Regions from separate parts of the Homo sapiens genome. Here region 2 is linked to region 1. The links are contacts of gene promoters, found by promoter capture Hi-C in blood cells and fetal thymus (Javierre and others, 2016). All regions are on one chromosome and are shown on one strand. The core of a region is centred on a gene start or on the middle of the fragment in contact, and the rest is flanking DNA. Distances in the headings are between cores, read along the strand shown. Region 1 holds the start of SYK (spleen associated tyrosine kinase). Region 2 has its middle 28 kb from the start of NFIL3.

What was found. The method cuts DNA at HindIII sites, captures the fragments that hold promoters and counts their contacts. A CHiCAGO score of 5 or more calls a contact.
Region 2: a fragment that was not itself captured here is called in contact with the fragment with the promoter of SYK in region 1 in 1 of 17 cell types (neutrophils); the score reaches 5.3 in neutrophils.

Annotation. Positions count from the first base shown.
Region 1 is chr9:90,796,290-90,804,175 of GRCh38, reverse strand. It overlaps SYK (spleen associated tyrosine kinase), which reads right to left and starts at 2,357. Exons shown (of 14, transcript NM_003177.7): 1 at 2,283-2,357. RefSeq lists silencers at 2,219-2,378, 2,399-2,608. The HindIII fragment of the contact is 2,717 bases long and covers 443-3,159 here.
Region 2 is chr9:91,392,183-91,400,068 of GRCh38, reverse strand. No RefSeq gene overlaps it. Among named protein-coding and RNA genes, the nearest start is that of NFIL3, 28 kb to the left of the region's middle. The HindIII fragment of the contact is 1,417 bases long and covers 2,774-4,190 here.

The DNA.
Region 1 (7,886 bases), core at 1,108-3,607:
AGGAACTGCCCTTCTAATTACTGGAAAGTGTGAAGTATTGAACAACATAAATGCACTTTCCTTTTAAAAGCAAACCGTAGTTCAGTGGAGTCTAATACAGACTCAGTCCCTCAGCTGCAGCTCTAAAAAGCTCTGAAAAACAACACTTTTTTTTTTTTTGGTAAGTCTTAGAGAAGCTCTCGTAGTGATAACACCTGCTCTAAACAGACACACAGCTCTTTATAGTCTTTATTTATTCCACTTAGTGAGAATATTCATGTTCTTAAATGTAAAAGTACAGAAATATTAATGCATGGAATTACAGGATTCTCTCCAGACTATATTGGAATGGCATGTAACCAGCAGGGTCAACATGTATGTTTACCTTTCTAAATTCTGAGCAATGTCTTTCTCAGTTCTGAAATTTAGATTCTAAATTTTAATTCCAAATTCTGAAAAAGCTTGAATTCCAAAATACGTCTTGGCACAAGCATATTGGATTATAACCATGGGCAAACAATGTGCTAAATAAGTGAAGTTCTACTAAGAAGTCTTCCATTAAAAAAAAGCAGAGAGATTAGACCTGCATTTAGAATATTAAATAGGGGCCTAACAAAGATCAGGGTGATTCATTTCTAAAGTGAAATCTAGCAATAAAATAACGTTTCTACCAATTTCATCTCTCAGGAAAGATAAAGACCTAAAGTATACACCCCATTTTTATCCTAGCTTAAAACTTTCTAGTTATTAAGACTATTATAAAATCCTATTTTATATTTCACTTCAAATACAGAGGCTTAAAAAAAAATCTTCCCACAATCCCTCAGTAGAAAAATCTCTTTTTTCCTAGTGTTCAAATCCAACCTTTTCAAATCCAAGGTAGAAGAGTAAGAGGATAAGACACAAATCAAGTAATTTGATTATAATCTCTCATTCAAATACACTTTAAAGTGCACTTCAAATACAGGGGATAATACAAATCAATTTCTGTTTTAATGCAAGAGTTTTCTAAATACGTTAAAACAAAAGTGCCGTTCAGAACAAAAATGATTTGATAAAATAATTTCAACTGACAAAGATTTCTCACTTAAAACACTTAATAATTTACATGTATTTAAGCCTTTTTGAGAAAATATAATTCTATCTATGCACTGCTCGGACTTTCACTGGGGAGAAGGAGGACATCAATGTATTTAGTTGCATTTAATTAAAATGCTGCCTGTGTGAAGGCAATGAATTTGTCCCTACTAAGACAAAGAAGTCAGATGGTAGAATCAATTCCATTTCTTCCAGGAACTCTTAGGGATTAAATGGTTCCTTTTTTTATTTTTAATACCAAGAATCAGATATGGCACAACATCTTCAACTCTTTTTTTTTTTTACTACACGCTGCAATGCTTTGAACTCTACTTGAGTTCGACTGAATCTTTGCTAAGTCAGGCAAAACTCAAAAAATATTTTGCAACACTGTTTCCAACGTAAAAAAAGATTCAAACTCTCACTTCTCCAATTGTCTTTCTAGTCCTTGAACATTCCAACAAAAGAATGGATTGCATTTATATAGTTTTTAGGTGGGCTTAAGGTTTTGGAGCCACATTGCCAAAAACAGACAAACAGACAAAAAGAAACACCCTTAACTCTTAACTCAAATTTACATTTTACTACATAAAACTTTCTTGCTCTCCAAGTTCATTGGCTAAGTAAATTACTTGACAATGAAAATGTATCCACAAGAGTAATTATGCTAAATTTTAGTAGTGGTTCAGAAGGGTTGTTGTTTGAATGCAACTGCTGTTTCTTTTTGTAGTAAAAGATTTGTCTAAGCTCATAAGACGTCTGGACATTTCTACTTTGAGTAACTTTGATAAACACTGCGGCATTTTCCAGTGGATTCGTGTAAATGGCCAAAGGAAAATGTTCTAGCTCCAAGATCGACTTCCTCGCGCTGTGCCTGATCCCAATCCCGCGTCTCCCGAGGGCCGGGCCGCGACCGCACTTTCCGCGCTCCCTGGGGGCCTGGGCGCCCTGGGGTGCCCGGGTCACTTTCCGCACGGTCTGACCTCCGTCCCCTCCGCCCAGGCCTGAGCCCCTCTCTCCCGGCGCAGCTTCTGGATCCCGAGCGCGGGTAGGTTCAGGAGCGAAGCTGGCGGAACCCACCTGTATTTTATTCACATGGTTTCAGCACTTTTACCTCGGCCGATGAAGGTAGAACAAGAAAGGGCATGAAAGCAGCGCGTCGTTCCCCGTAACCTCCTCTCCTTACCAGAAAGTCCCGGCCGGGTAGGGGACGCGGCCACACCTACCTGCGCCAGGTGAGGCGAGGGCGGGCGCAGCGCGGGGCCACCCGCTCCTCCTCGCTCTCCAGCCGCCGCCGGGGTGGCCTCAGCCGCCGGGCCCGCGGCTCTTCCTCATTTTGGGCAACTTCCTTAACGCGCCCGGGCAGGCGGCCCGCACTTCCTCCCAGTGTCGCGCCCCGCCGCCCTGGCCCGCCCTGCTGACCGCGCCCATGAGCCCGGAGCTGGGCGGGAATCGGCTGAAGCGCCGGGCGAGGCCCGCGGAATCGGCCCAGGCGGCGGCAGGTGTAGAGGAGCCCGGGTGGGGCGCGCCTCTCTCCTCCCGCCGGACAAGGGCCCTTCGCAGGCAGAGAAGGTGGGGCTGCCCGGGACATGGACCGCATCGGTCCCCCTCCTCCCCGCCAGCGCGGTGGCTTCTGTGACTGCCCAGGACCCACAGACACCCAGCGGCCCTTTCCTTTTGCTATGCAGTGCCGGGGAAGAGACTCCACTGCATGGCATATTCCCTGGAGTGTATCTTGGTCACCAAACCAACAAGCTCCAAGCTACTGTGCTGGAGCACTCGGGAGGCCTGGGCAGTGCTGAGAGGGACCCTGTAGGTGAACACCAGACTTCACGGCGCACTAGTGGGCAATGGGGCACGCTGCTTCTGAAGGCTTTAATTATTACAAAAGGCTTTGCTTCCTTCTTACCATGACGGCTCTGACGTCCACAACCAAATAAATTAAACCTATAGCCCTAAGAATGGTTTTGAGATACCCGCCTGATACCCTTCTCCCAACCCATCCCCCTTTTCCTTTTGGACATTCCTCTTTAAAATGTTCCCACAAAACGGCATCCAGACCTTCTTGATAACACTGGTTGGCAGTGCCTGTTTTAAAAAGCTTTACCCTAAGCCAAAATGCGAGAAGCAAAAAAATATATATATAATGTGCTGGATTGTAATTGCCATGGAGAAAATATAGGGATGGGACTATTTACACTTATTGGAGCCCCCAGCCTTTTCTGCTTCCAGGGTTATTGGATTTTCATTCATTTTTGCCATTATTTTTTCTAAACCTGTTAAAAGAAAACTTCAGCAGAATTAAATTTAAAGCAGTTTAATTGAGTAATGAATGATTTGCGAATGGGGCAGCTTCCAGAATCACAGCGGATTCAGAGACTCCAGGGATGCCTCATGGTCAGAACATATTTATAGACAAAAAAAGGGAAGTGACATACAGAAATTGGAGGTAAGGCAGAGAAACAACTGGATTGGTTACAGGTTGGCTTTTGCCTTCTTTGAACACAGTTTGAACACTCAGCAGTGTATGAATGGTTGAAGTATGGCCACTGGGATTGGCCAAGACTCAGCTATTGTTAAAGGCACATACTCCTAAATTAGGTTTTCAATCTTGTCTGCCTATTAAGCTAGGTTACAGTTCATCCACAAGGACTCAAATATAGAATACAGAGTCCTTCTCAGATCATACTTAGGTTGCTTTAACAAACATAAATGGAAGATTTTGATAATGGTTATATTTGCTTATCATTGGACTTAATTTTGCTTCAACTACCCGAAAAAATAGCCATTGTTCCTGAGATGGAGCCTGCAGAATGTCTACAGATGGTTTTCAGAGTTGTCAGCATTATTGGAGATGAACACTAGGGGACCAGTGTGTACAAAGCAAACCCAGCCTGCACAAAGATTGCAGTTTTCTCAGGCTTTCACCTGATGGAAATGAGGGGGAAATTCTAGATCCATCTACAACCTCCTTCCTTTACACTGCTGTGTTCCTTTCCCCCTTTGAGTCACCTTCCGCATTACTTAGTATCATGTAGTAATTTTTTTTTTTTTTGAGACGGAGCCTCACTCTGTTGCCCAGGCTGGAGTACAGTGGCCCGATCATCTCAGCTCACCGCAAGCTCTGCCTCCTGGGCTCACGCCATTCTCCTGCCTCAGCCTCCCGAGTAGCTGGGACTATAGGCGCCCGCCACCATGCCCGGCTAATTTTTTGTATTTTTAGTAGAGACGGGGTTTCACCGTGTTCGCCAGGATGGTCTCGATCTCCTGACCTCGTGATCTGCCTGCCTTGGCCTCCCAAAATGCTGGGATTACAGGCGTGAGCCACCATGCCTAGCCTAAAAGATGGTTCACATTATGTATCATCAGGGAAATGCAAATGAAGACAGTAAGATATCAGTATGGCCCAAATTCGGAACACTGACCGCAGTGAACACTAGTGAGGATGTGAAGCAATAGAAATACTCATTCATTGCTGTTGTGAATGCAAGATGGTACAGCCACTGTGGAAGACAGTTTGGCAGTTTCTTATGAAACTAAACATCCTCTTACAACATGAGTAATTATAAGAGGATTGTCCTTCTTGGTATTTACCCAAAGTAGTTGGTATTTACCTAAAGTAGTACCCAGTAATTGTGCTTCTTGGTATTTACCCAAAGGAGTTCAAACCTTATGTTCACACAAAAATCTGCACACAAATGTTTACGCTGGCTTTATTTACTAAGTTTATTGCCAAAACTTGGACACAAACAAGATGTCATTCAGTAAGTGAATGGATATATAAACTCTTGTACATCAGTGTAATGGAATATTGTTCCACACTAAAATGAAATGCACTAGCAAGTTATGAAAAGAAATGGATGAAATCTAAATGCATATTACCAAGTGAAAGAAGCCCTCTGAAAAGGCTACATACTGTATAATTTCAACAGGTGATATTCTGGAAAGAGCCAAACTATCTGGATAGTAAAAAGATCAGTGGCTGCCATGGGCTGGTGGGGAGGGCAGGATGAATAGAAGGAGAACAGAGATTTTTTAGGGCTGTGAAAGTATGCTGTATGATATTACAATGGTGGATACACAGCACTATACATTTGTTAAACACCATACAATATACAACACCAAGAGGGAACATCAGTGTAAACTTCAGGCTTTGGGTGATTATGATGTGTCAAAGTAGGTTCATCAATTGTAACAAATGTACCAGTCTGATGGGGCTGTTGATAATGGGAAAGGCTGTGCATGTGTGAGGTCAGTGGGTATATGGGAAACCTCGGTACCTGCCTCTCATTTTTACTGTGAACCTAAAACTGCTCTAAAAAATAGTGTTTAATTTAAAAAAATAGTTTTTTTGGTAACAGTGGCAAGTATTCCTAATAGGCAATCCCTTAAAAGAATAAAAGCACAAAGGAAATAGAAACATCCCAAATTTCAGACATAATCATCATTACCGTTAGGTGACCCTTACAAAATTATCTCTTTCTATATGTACACATGGCAATAGATATAAAAATGGGCATCATTTTAAATATAATACATTTATTATACATTTTATCCATGTTAAATATGATATTTAATTCTACTTAAATTTAACAGAATAAAAAATTCTGAAATGGGATCTAAAGAATTGCTGATTTTATAGAAATGATTCTTTGCCACAAATGTATCATTTCTGAAATGACCCCACTTTGATTAAAGGAAAAGAAAAGTGACAATAATAAGCAGTTTTCGTCATTTCTTCTAAACCATGAGCTTTAATTTCAGACAGTATCAGTAACTCTGCTATGATACATGAACCAATTACCTCTCTCACTCCACTTCACTTCAGCTCACCTCTCACGTTTCCCTAGTTATATGAGTTTTACATAGTTAAGTTTAAAATTTTTGATTTCTGTAACCATAAACCCTCAGTGGTCTCTTCTTAGTTCTCCATTTAAAAGGATACCTTATGCACCTCCAGACCTTTCTACCACCATATCTCATTCCTACTTTCTTTGTTGATGAGCTGGATGGACTCTGTGAAGATGTGATCCCACATACTGCATCTATCAATGCTCTCCACTTTCAGGATGTTATTCTGTTGCTGTTGTATTGCAGTGACATCAAGGTGGGCACATTGTGTCTCCATCCTACTTCCCTTTGGCCTAGACTCGGTTGATTTTCCTCCCTTGCCCCTTTGGCATTGAATGTTGTTTTGGAGAAATGTGAGAACAGCCAGTCCTTTGTCCTCTTTTAGGTGACTTGCTCTTCTTTCCAGGCTGCTGGAGGAAACTTTCTTTAACTGAGATATTAAGAAACTTGACAAGGATATATACTGATACAGATCAACCAGCATCTTTTATTTCTTTTTCTTTTTTTGAGATGGAGTTTCACTCTTGTTGCCCAGGCTGGTGTGCAATGGCGTGATCTTGGCTCACTGCAACCTCTGCCTCCCAGGTTCAAGCAATTCTCCTGCCTCAGCCTCCTGAGCAGCTGGGATTACAGGCGCCCGCCACCAAGCCCAGCTAATTTTTTGTATTTTTAGTAGAGACAGAGTTTCACCATGTTGGCCAGGCTGGTCTCGAACTCCTGACCTCAGGTGATCATCCTGCCTTGGCCTCCCAAAGTGATGGCAGGAGTCACCACACCCGGCCATCTTTTATTTCTTAAACACAATGCACTCTTTAATGCACATCATAATCACCCAAAGCCCAAAGTTTGCATTGAGGTTCCCTCTTGGTGTTGTATATTGTATGGTGTTTAACAAATATATAATGCTGTGTATCCACCATTGTAATGCGCAGATTTAGATCTTCATTCAAAGAATTTTTTCTTGTGTGATTTTAAATACCTTTTTATTTGTTAAGTGCTTTTCTTCAAGGATATTAATTAACTTTTTATCATCTAAGTCTATTATCTTTTCTCTGATTGTAGTAATCTACTTTGTTTTTTCTTCCTGGTTCACAGTGATTTTCTCTCTCTCCCTTTCTTTTTTTTCGGGAACTAAATGTTTAGCTGGGTCTGCTTTATTTCTTGTTATTTCTAATTTACCTGTAGGTAGGTTTATTGGTCCTCAAATTATTTCTTTGTCTCTGGTTCTCTCTATCTCACTCTTTTTAGTTATTTTCTCTTGGTTATTCAATCGGTTCTTGAGTTTTTTAAAAAATTGAATGCAGGCTCTTATCAAATTTTGTAGCCTGTGCACTTAAAAATTCTTTCAGACTGGATTTTATTTTTAATTTGTGCATGTTATTTTCTTTTAAGGTTTGCATAGCTGCTAGTTCATTGATTTCATCTTGTCCATACTTGGCAGCTTTCTTCAGACTTTCACTTTGCTCTGCCCCTTTGTGTGTGGCAGCTCCTAAATCCTCATGTCAGAGCCTTTTCTTACCCCTTTTCTGGATTACATATGACGGCTTAATATTCCTTTTGAGCTTGATTTTCTATAACCTTTGAGCGTGGGAATGGTGGGGGTGGGCTTAGCTGGAGTTGTGTTGCACAAACTGGGCCCCTCCTTCCAATGTGAGACTGTGAGGAACATGCAGGCTTCGCACTTCATTGAGGGAGGGAGAAGGCTGAGCTTACTCTGTCCAGCGAGGTTGGGGGCATCTGTGAGTTTCAGCTCATTCCCCCAATTAATGTGGGTCGTTGGAGTCCTCACACTCTGACAAAATCATGCCACATTGCTGCTATTTCCTTTTGCACTAATCTCCACTGCAGCCATTTTCACTACTCCACAGTCAAAAATGAGAAAAACTAAGGATAAACAATGGCCCCTTCTTCTCTCAAGATCTGAGTGAGAATTGTTCAGGATTTTGTAGACGCACAATATATGGTTTCTGGGAGGTTGG
Region 2 (7,886 bases), core at 2,233-4,732, 590 kb before region 1:
TTGAGAGCTCTTCCTGTGTCCCAGAAATAGCCTTTCGCAGAGGTCGGCAGGGAAATTTAAGTCACCTGGCCACGTGCACAGAGTGGGTAGGTGAGGAGCAAGGAGGTGACTTTGAGAGCCACACTCCTAATCGCTATGCGACACTTCCTTAGGTCTGAGCTGGTAGCATTTTTAAGGGCAAAAAAATCATGGGGGAGAGGGTGAGAAGCATAATAACTATTTTACTCCCCCAGTTTAGGCTGCAAGAGCCTAAACTAGTCTGTGGGCTATCACTACTGTCCCCAGTGCCAGTGAGCCCTGCACCATCTACCACACTGTGCCTACTGCTACAGGCCGACCACCTCCCCAAAGCCCACATTGAGACACACTGCCCACCTTCTTTTTTGGGGGGAACAGGATCTCACTCTGTCGCCCAGGCTGGAATACAGTGGTGCAATCATGGCTCACTGCAGCCTTGACCTTGATGATTGCTTGCATGGCTCAAGCAGTCATCCCGCCTCAGCCTTCCAAGTAGCTGGGATTACAGGTTCGTGGCACCATTTTTTTTTTAATGCTAAATTTGAAGTTTTTAAATTTTACATTTAAAGTTCGCGCCACCATAATTTTTAAATTTTTTTTTAATAGAGACAGGGTTTCATGATGTTGCTCTGACTGGTCTAGAACTCCCGGGCTCAAGCAATCCTTCCGCCTTGGCTTTCCAAAATGCTGGGATTATAGGCATGAGCCACTGTGTCTGGCCACATTGCCCCCCTTCTAAAAACCTCAGGAGACCCTCTTGGTTACAAATAACAACGCCTAAACCTCCTTGTCTGAAACTTAAGACCCTTAACATTTCAGCTGATACTAACCTTTCCTAGCGTATCTCCCATTCTCTGTGAATTCCAGACTGTGGGTTGCAACTGCACTGGCTTGTGCCATGAATGCCAGGGACACTAGCCAGCATTTCAGATGCAGGAACAGATGACATGGCAGTGCATTCAAGGTAGCAAGTCAAGCTGCAGTTTCAAGAAACACACATCCTGACATGTTTGCATTTCCAATGTAAAATGCATCTCTTATGATAGGTCTCTGCTGAAGCAAAGTCTTGAAAGCCGTGATTTCATACCACTGATGTGAACTGTTCTCCCTGGAACCCAGGAAGCCCACAGAGAGGCTTTACTGGCCTCTGGGAGGCAAAAGAAGGGGGCATGAAAGCCTAGGTCTCAAGGCCCAGTTCTCCTCTCATTAGTGCTCCTCTTTTTCGTGTGTGTGTGTGTGTGTGTGTGTGTGTGTGTGTGTGGTATTGGGCTTCTACCTGGTAAAAGAGTTCTGCTCTTCCCTACTCTGTGACAACATTCTTCATCACCCCATATCCTGGGTGCTCTTCTGCTTCCACGTCTACAGCACGCGCCTGCCCTGGCATCCATCATACAGCTCTTTTCCTGTAGCATTATTCAAAGTAAATTCTGATACAAGAAAATTAGGACTACCTTTTCAAGACAATCATTTTCTAGGTTAGATAATATCTGTGTACTACTGGCATTACTGTTCTTTCCATCTAAAAATCAGCCCTCTTAAATGGTACCCCTTGAAAACAACTTGAATAAATTAAGTAGTACCTTGCCAGATTCTGGAAATGCAAAACAAAAATGTCCTAGTATTTTAGACCAGTGGTTTCCAACTTTTGTTTATCCCACAGTCCTAGCTATTAAAAAAAAAAAAGAAAAAAGGAAGAAAAGAAAAGAAAAGAAAAAAGTACATCTATCTATGTATCTATTATCTACTTTCCTCCCTATCTATCAACCATCTATCATCCATCTATCATCTGTCTATCCACCCATTAACTCATCCATCTAGCTGTTATCTATTTACTTATCTACCCATACATACATCATACATCTATCTATCTATCTACCTATCTTTTTATCCATCCATCCACCCATCCTTCTATTCGATGAGAAAGTGCAGGTACTAAAGTCAGTTAGAATATTAAATATTAATAAACCTTGCTGAGTGGGGTGGCTCATGCCTATAATCCTAGCACTTTGGGAGGCCAAGGTGGGCAGATCACTTGAGGCCAGAAGTTTGAAACCCTATCTCTACTAAAAATACAAAAATTAGCTGGGTGTGGTGGTACACACCTATAATCCCAGCTACTTAGGTGGCTGAAGCACGAGAATTGCTTGAACCCAGGAGGCGGAGGTTGCAGTGAGCCGCTGCACTCCAGCCTGGGTGACAGAGCGAGAACTGTCTCAAAAACAGGAATAAATAAAATAAATATTATTAAAGCTTAATGTATCTCATTTTCAGACAAATAAATATGAAAAATAATTCCAATATTCTCCCTGCATCACAAAGGATAATTTTGTAAACATACTGGGCATCATCCTTGGACCCCAGTAAAGACCACTGCTTTGTATGAGGAGGGATTGGAGGTAGAGGAATGGCAGCTTTTCATATACTTGATCAGCTAATTGGGTTTTTACAAAAAAAAAAAAAGGTAAGGCACATTTTGACATCCCAGTTTAAAGCTTTTAGATGTTTCCAAATGTTAAAAATATACACACATCTCTATTTCTTCTTCTCCCTATTTCTTCTCACCAGCTTGGATTTTAATGGCTAAGATAGCCTTATAGATGGTTTCCAGTTTTGAACTATTTTTGACACCTGCACTATATTTTAAAATTGAGGCTATGTTTGTCTTATAACATGCCTAAGACTTGTTTATTACCTAAAAATGAACAAGGAAAGTCATAGCCTGCCTTAGTGTTCTTCCAGTGGACAGGAAAAAGCTTCTACCACTGAGCAGTTTAATGAGGCAATGGGAAACTACATAAAGTTTGGCTTTGAATCCATCAGGAATTGTGTTGATTCAAGGCACCAGAAAGCTCCTTATAGAATATAAGGCCAAAGAATATAAGATCCCCCTGTATTTTATTTTATTTTATAATTTTTTGAGACGGAGTTTCGCTTGTGTTGCCCAGACTGGAGTGCAATGGTGTGATCTTGGCTCACTGCAACCGCCGCCTCTCAGGTTCAAGCGAATTCTCCTGCCTCAGCATCCTGAGTAGCTGGGATTACAAGCATGTGCCACTACACCAGGCTAATTTTTTTTTTTTTTGTATTTTTAGTAGAGACGGGGTTTCACTATGTTGACCAGGCTGGTCCCGAACTCCTGACCTCAGGCGACCCACTCTCCTAGGCCTCCCAAAGTGCTGGGATTACAGGTGTGAGCTACCGTGCCCGGCCAAGTTCCCCCTTTAAAATTTGTAAATTCTTTCAGGGCTAGCATTCAAATAGGCTTTGAGGGAAAGCAATCACCTATTAAATTCTTTGTGAGAAACATCTCTGGATTAAACTTGAGAGGGATTCCATCTGGTCTCTGACCTTTGAGCTTCTTTATAATTACAACTGACCCCAAAGTCATTGTATTTTGCAGTTTTCTACCTTGGGTTCCAGCAGCCTTCATGATATTTGTAAGATATTAAAATTACCATCTGCTATTGCTTACTATGTCTTAGGCTTCTGATGTGATAAAAGTATTAATTATTTTAAGCAGTACATTTTTAAACTTCTTATCCTCTTTTATGAATGCTCACTAATGAATTCTTATTAAGCCATTAAGGTAAGTATGGTAATTTATTATTACATTTTTTTTCCTATAAAATGGGAACAGCTTGTCTGGATTTGCATCTATAATGGTAACAGTAGCTTCAAGAACATCTGCTTTGGTGTTAACTTCTAATAGGCCTTGCGTGGAGCAATCTGTTCTCCATGTATGGGACCCAGTCATTACTCACGTTCCTGAGAAAAGATGGCACCAAGTCAACTACTGCTGGTTTTATTTGTATTATTTTTAAGTCATTTTATTTTTTGCTGTAGATATCCTGTAATTGAAACATACTACTTACTTATAAGAATTCTACTAAAATTCCACTTCTATACTAGGACTAAAGTATTAAATTAGGAAGAAACATACATAGTACATTCAAATAATGCATATTTCATGAATCTTTGAGGTATTCTTGCCATTTGAGGAATTCCTGAAATGAGTCATAACCCACAGGATACATATCCGCAGAACTTTTGTTTTGTGACTTGCAGCAGCAAGTCGCTTACAACCAGTTTTACACATGTTTGTCTGGTTTAACTTCCTAAAATACAAATGTGGTCAACCCAATCTTCTGATTTCTTACTTTACAGACTAAGCTTTGCTATTCAAAGTGTGGTCCAGGCTCCAGCAGCGAGAATCTGACATGGAATCTTCTAGAAATGCAGACTAGCAGGCCCCTCTCAGAATCAGAATCTGCACTCTAACAAAATCCCCAGGTGATACATCATACTCATTAAAATGTGAGAAGTAAGATCTATAGGAACGGCCCCCAAAAAAGTCTGTCTTGGTGAAACTAGTGAAAAATGAAGAACCACAAAACAGTGAGTTTGTCATAAAGCTAAAGGTATCTAACGTTTTTAGTAGACAAGTATGAAATCTCCCCCTCCCTGCACTGCCACACTCCAATCTCTTTTCCATCCTCAGCGTCCTTGTTCCCACCTTGCACAACTCTGGGCCTCTGCACATGAAGCTTCTTCCATTGGGAATCCCCATCCCTGTCTGACAAACTCCTTTGAATTCTTCAAGACCCACTCAGTTTCTACCACATCTGTAAAGACATTCTCAGTGGTGTCCCTACAATGCCGTACTCATGCTGTGATTATAGTGTTTCTCACATTATATAAAATGTTGTTCATGTGTCTGTCAACACACCTAGACCATGTGCTCCTCAAAAGCAGGACTGTGTCCTCTCCGTCATTGTCTCCTCAACTCCTAAGAAAGACAGACACAAACTAGTTGCTCAATATGTTTGCTGAATGAATGTGACCTATGTGGAAATAAGCACCAGCAGAGACAGTTATTGTGAAATACTCCATTTGATAGGTTGAATGTGGTACATAGAAAGGCTGTCGGTTCAGGAGACCACTTGCTAGAAGACTTTGGTCAAGTCACTTAATCCTTCTGTGCCTCAGTTTCTTCACTTGTAAAATAAGAATACCTGATTTCTCTGAATGCATTGGATTATTCTGAGGGTAAAATGCAAGGAATTATAAAAGAATCTTTAAAAGTTAAAAAGCAGGAACATCAAACACATGGTTAAACATCAATATGAGGCAGTAATCTTTTTTTTAATGTACCATTAGAATGAAGACATACTATATATGAGTATTTGTGGCTCTTTTGGTTTTCTAGAGCTGCTGTAACAAAGTCCCACAGTCTGGAGGCTTAAACAACAAAAAATCTATTTTCTTGTAGTTCTGGAGGCTAGAAGTTTAAGATAAGGTGTTGGCAGGGTTGGCTCCTTCTGAAGCCTCTCTCCTTGGCTTGCAGATAGATGACGTCTTCTCCCTGCATCTTCACATGGTCTTCTGTGTGTGTCTGTGTCCTCTAACTCTCTCTTTTTATAAAGACACCTGTCAGATTGGGTGAAGGCCCACCCTACTGACCTCATTTTAACTCAATTGCCTCTTTAAAGACCCTGTCTCCAAATATAGTCGCATTCTGAAGTACCAGGTGTTAGGACTTCCACTTACAAATTTTGAGGAAGACAATTCAGCTCTTAATAGTGACTTATTTAACTTTACACAATAAGTGTTTGTGGCATTTTAATAAAGGTAAGGTACCTCCTACCTGCTCTATCCATTCCTCAAATCCAGCCGGTTGTTAGGGTTCCCGATTTTTTTTCCAACAGTAGGCCATTCAGAAATGCAAAGCACCATTCAGTTAATAATGGTGCGCCAAGACGGTTCAGACTTGGTAAGTGGGATTTCATTCGAACATGACTCAAGTGGAGAAGGAGGTTTTTACGATATTTTTAACGTTATAAAAATATAAAAGAAATATAATATAGAAGTATAGAAAGAAAAATTTAAAACTTCCCCTTCCCCAATCTGATCCCCCCAAGATGACCAATGTGAAGTGGTTTAATGTGTATTTTTCCATATTAAAAGTGCTTATATATGCAAACCTACACAAAAAACATATGCACATATGGAGTCTCCATATGGAGGCATTTTCACACCCATTTTACTTTTGTCAGTAACCCATCATACTGTCTCAGTTTCATGATGTAATTGCAGTGGAATTACATTTAACAGCTCAAAGTTACATATAATCAACACATTTCGATGGCGGTGGAGGAGGCAAGCAATGTGCCTCTTACTTGCCGGTGAGCCCCAGGGCTCTACTACCTCCTCATGCAGACTTAGTCGGTTGGCCGCCATGATGGTTAATTTTAGGTATCGACTTGACTGGACTTAAAGGACACCCAGATGCTGGTAAAGCATTATTTCCGGGTGTATTTGTAAGAGTGTTTCTGGAAAAGATTACCATTTGAATTGGTAGACTGAGTAAAGAGGGTAGCTCTTCCCAGTGTGAGTGGGCATCATCCAATTTGTTAAGGGCCCACACAGAGCAAAAGGGCAGAGGAGGGGCGAATTTGATCTCTTCCATTTGAGCTAGGACATCCATCTTCTCCTGGCCTCAGACATCAGCACTCTGGGTTCTCCGGCATTTGGACTCCGAGACTGACACCGTCACTTCACTGTTCCTGATTCTCAGGCCTTCAAACTCAAACTGATTTACATCACTGGCTTTCCCGAGTCTCCAGCTTGCAGACAACAAATTGTGGGACTCCTTGGGCCTCCATAATTACGTGAGCCAATTCCTATGCTAAATCAATTCCTCTGTCTTGTGTGTGTGTGTGTGTGTGTGTGTGTGTGTGTGTATAAATCTATACAACCGCACAGTGAACTCTTAACTCACAAGAGTCAACCTCTAAGATGCTGTCCTCTGTTTGTAGCTTTATACTGATTTATTTTCTTTTTTTTTTTTTTGAGAAGGAGCCTTATTCTGTTGCTAGGCTGGAGTGCAGTGGCGCAATCTCAGCTCACTGCAACCTCTGCCTCCCGGGTTCAAGTGATTCTCCTACCTCAGCCTCCTGAGTAGCTTGGATTACAGGAGCCCACCACCACACCCAGCTAATTTTTGTATTTTTAGCAGAGACGGGTTTCACCATGTTGGCTAGGCTGGTCTTGAACTCCTGATCTCAGGTGATCCACTCGCCTCGGCCTGCAGCAAAGTGCTGCAATTACAGGCATGAGTATACTGATTTCTTGAGTCACTTGAAGCACAAGTCTCTCATTTTTAAGAAGCTAAATTTACTTACTACTATGCTTAATTTAAATGTTGTTTTTCTGGCTTTAATAATTTCTTGTCTTCAGAAAATTATCACATATGTTCATATTCCGATGTGATCAAATGCTTGCAACTATTTTTTTGTTTCCTTTTCTAGGCCTTGTGGCCTAGCCCCTTTCCTTTCCATCTCCCTCTGGGGTCTACCTATCTGGGGAAGCATGCATTCTCTGCTCCTCTGTGCCTTGAGTCTTAGGGCACCAGCTCCCCACAAAGATGAGGAAGCAAACAGTTTATCAGCTACAGCAGTTGTCCAGTTCTACCAGTGATCAAGCAAGTAGATCTTATTCTAGAACCTGGTATTGGCAGGCTCATTTGGCCTGCAGATGGAAAGCCATGTTTGCTAATAGTGGTGTTAGTAATAAAAGTAATAGAAGAGAACCTGAGATAACACATAAATGAATGTTGGCTTTGTCTCCCTCCCTAGTCCCGTTGCTCAACAGGTTGGGGTAGTAGAGTATAAAATGCATAGCATTACGTGCATGTTTTGGTGGTGTTTGTTAATATTCAATTCTGCTATGGAAGGAAAAAAATGGAAAGGAAGAAACTTAAGATAGAAGTATAGATGAGTAGTAAGTATGTAGCTTGGAAGACATCCACAAAATTCTCAAGATACGTTAGATAAAGAAAAGTTGTTAGCAAGCAAAGCGTGAGAGAATGG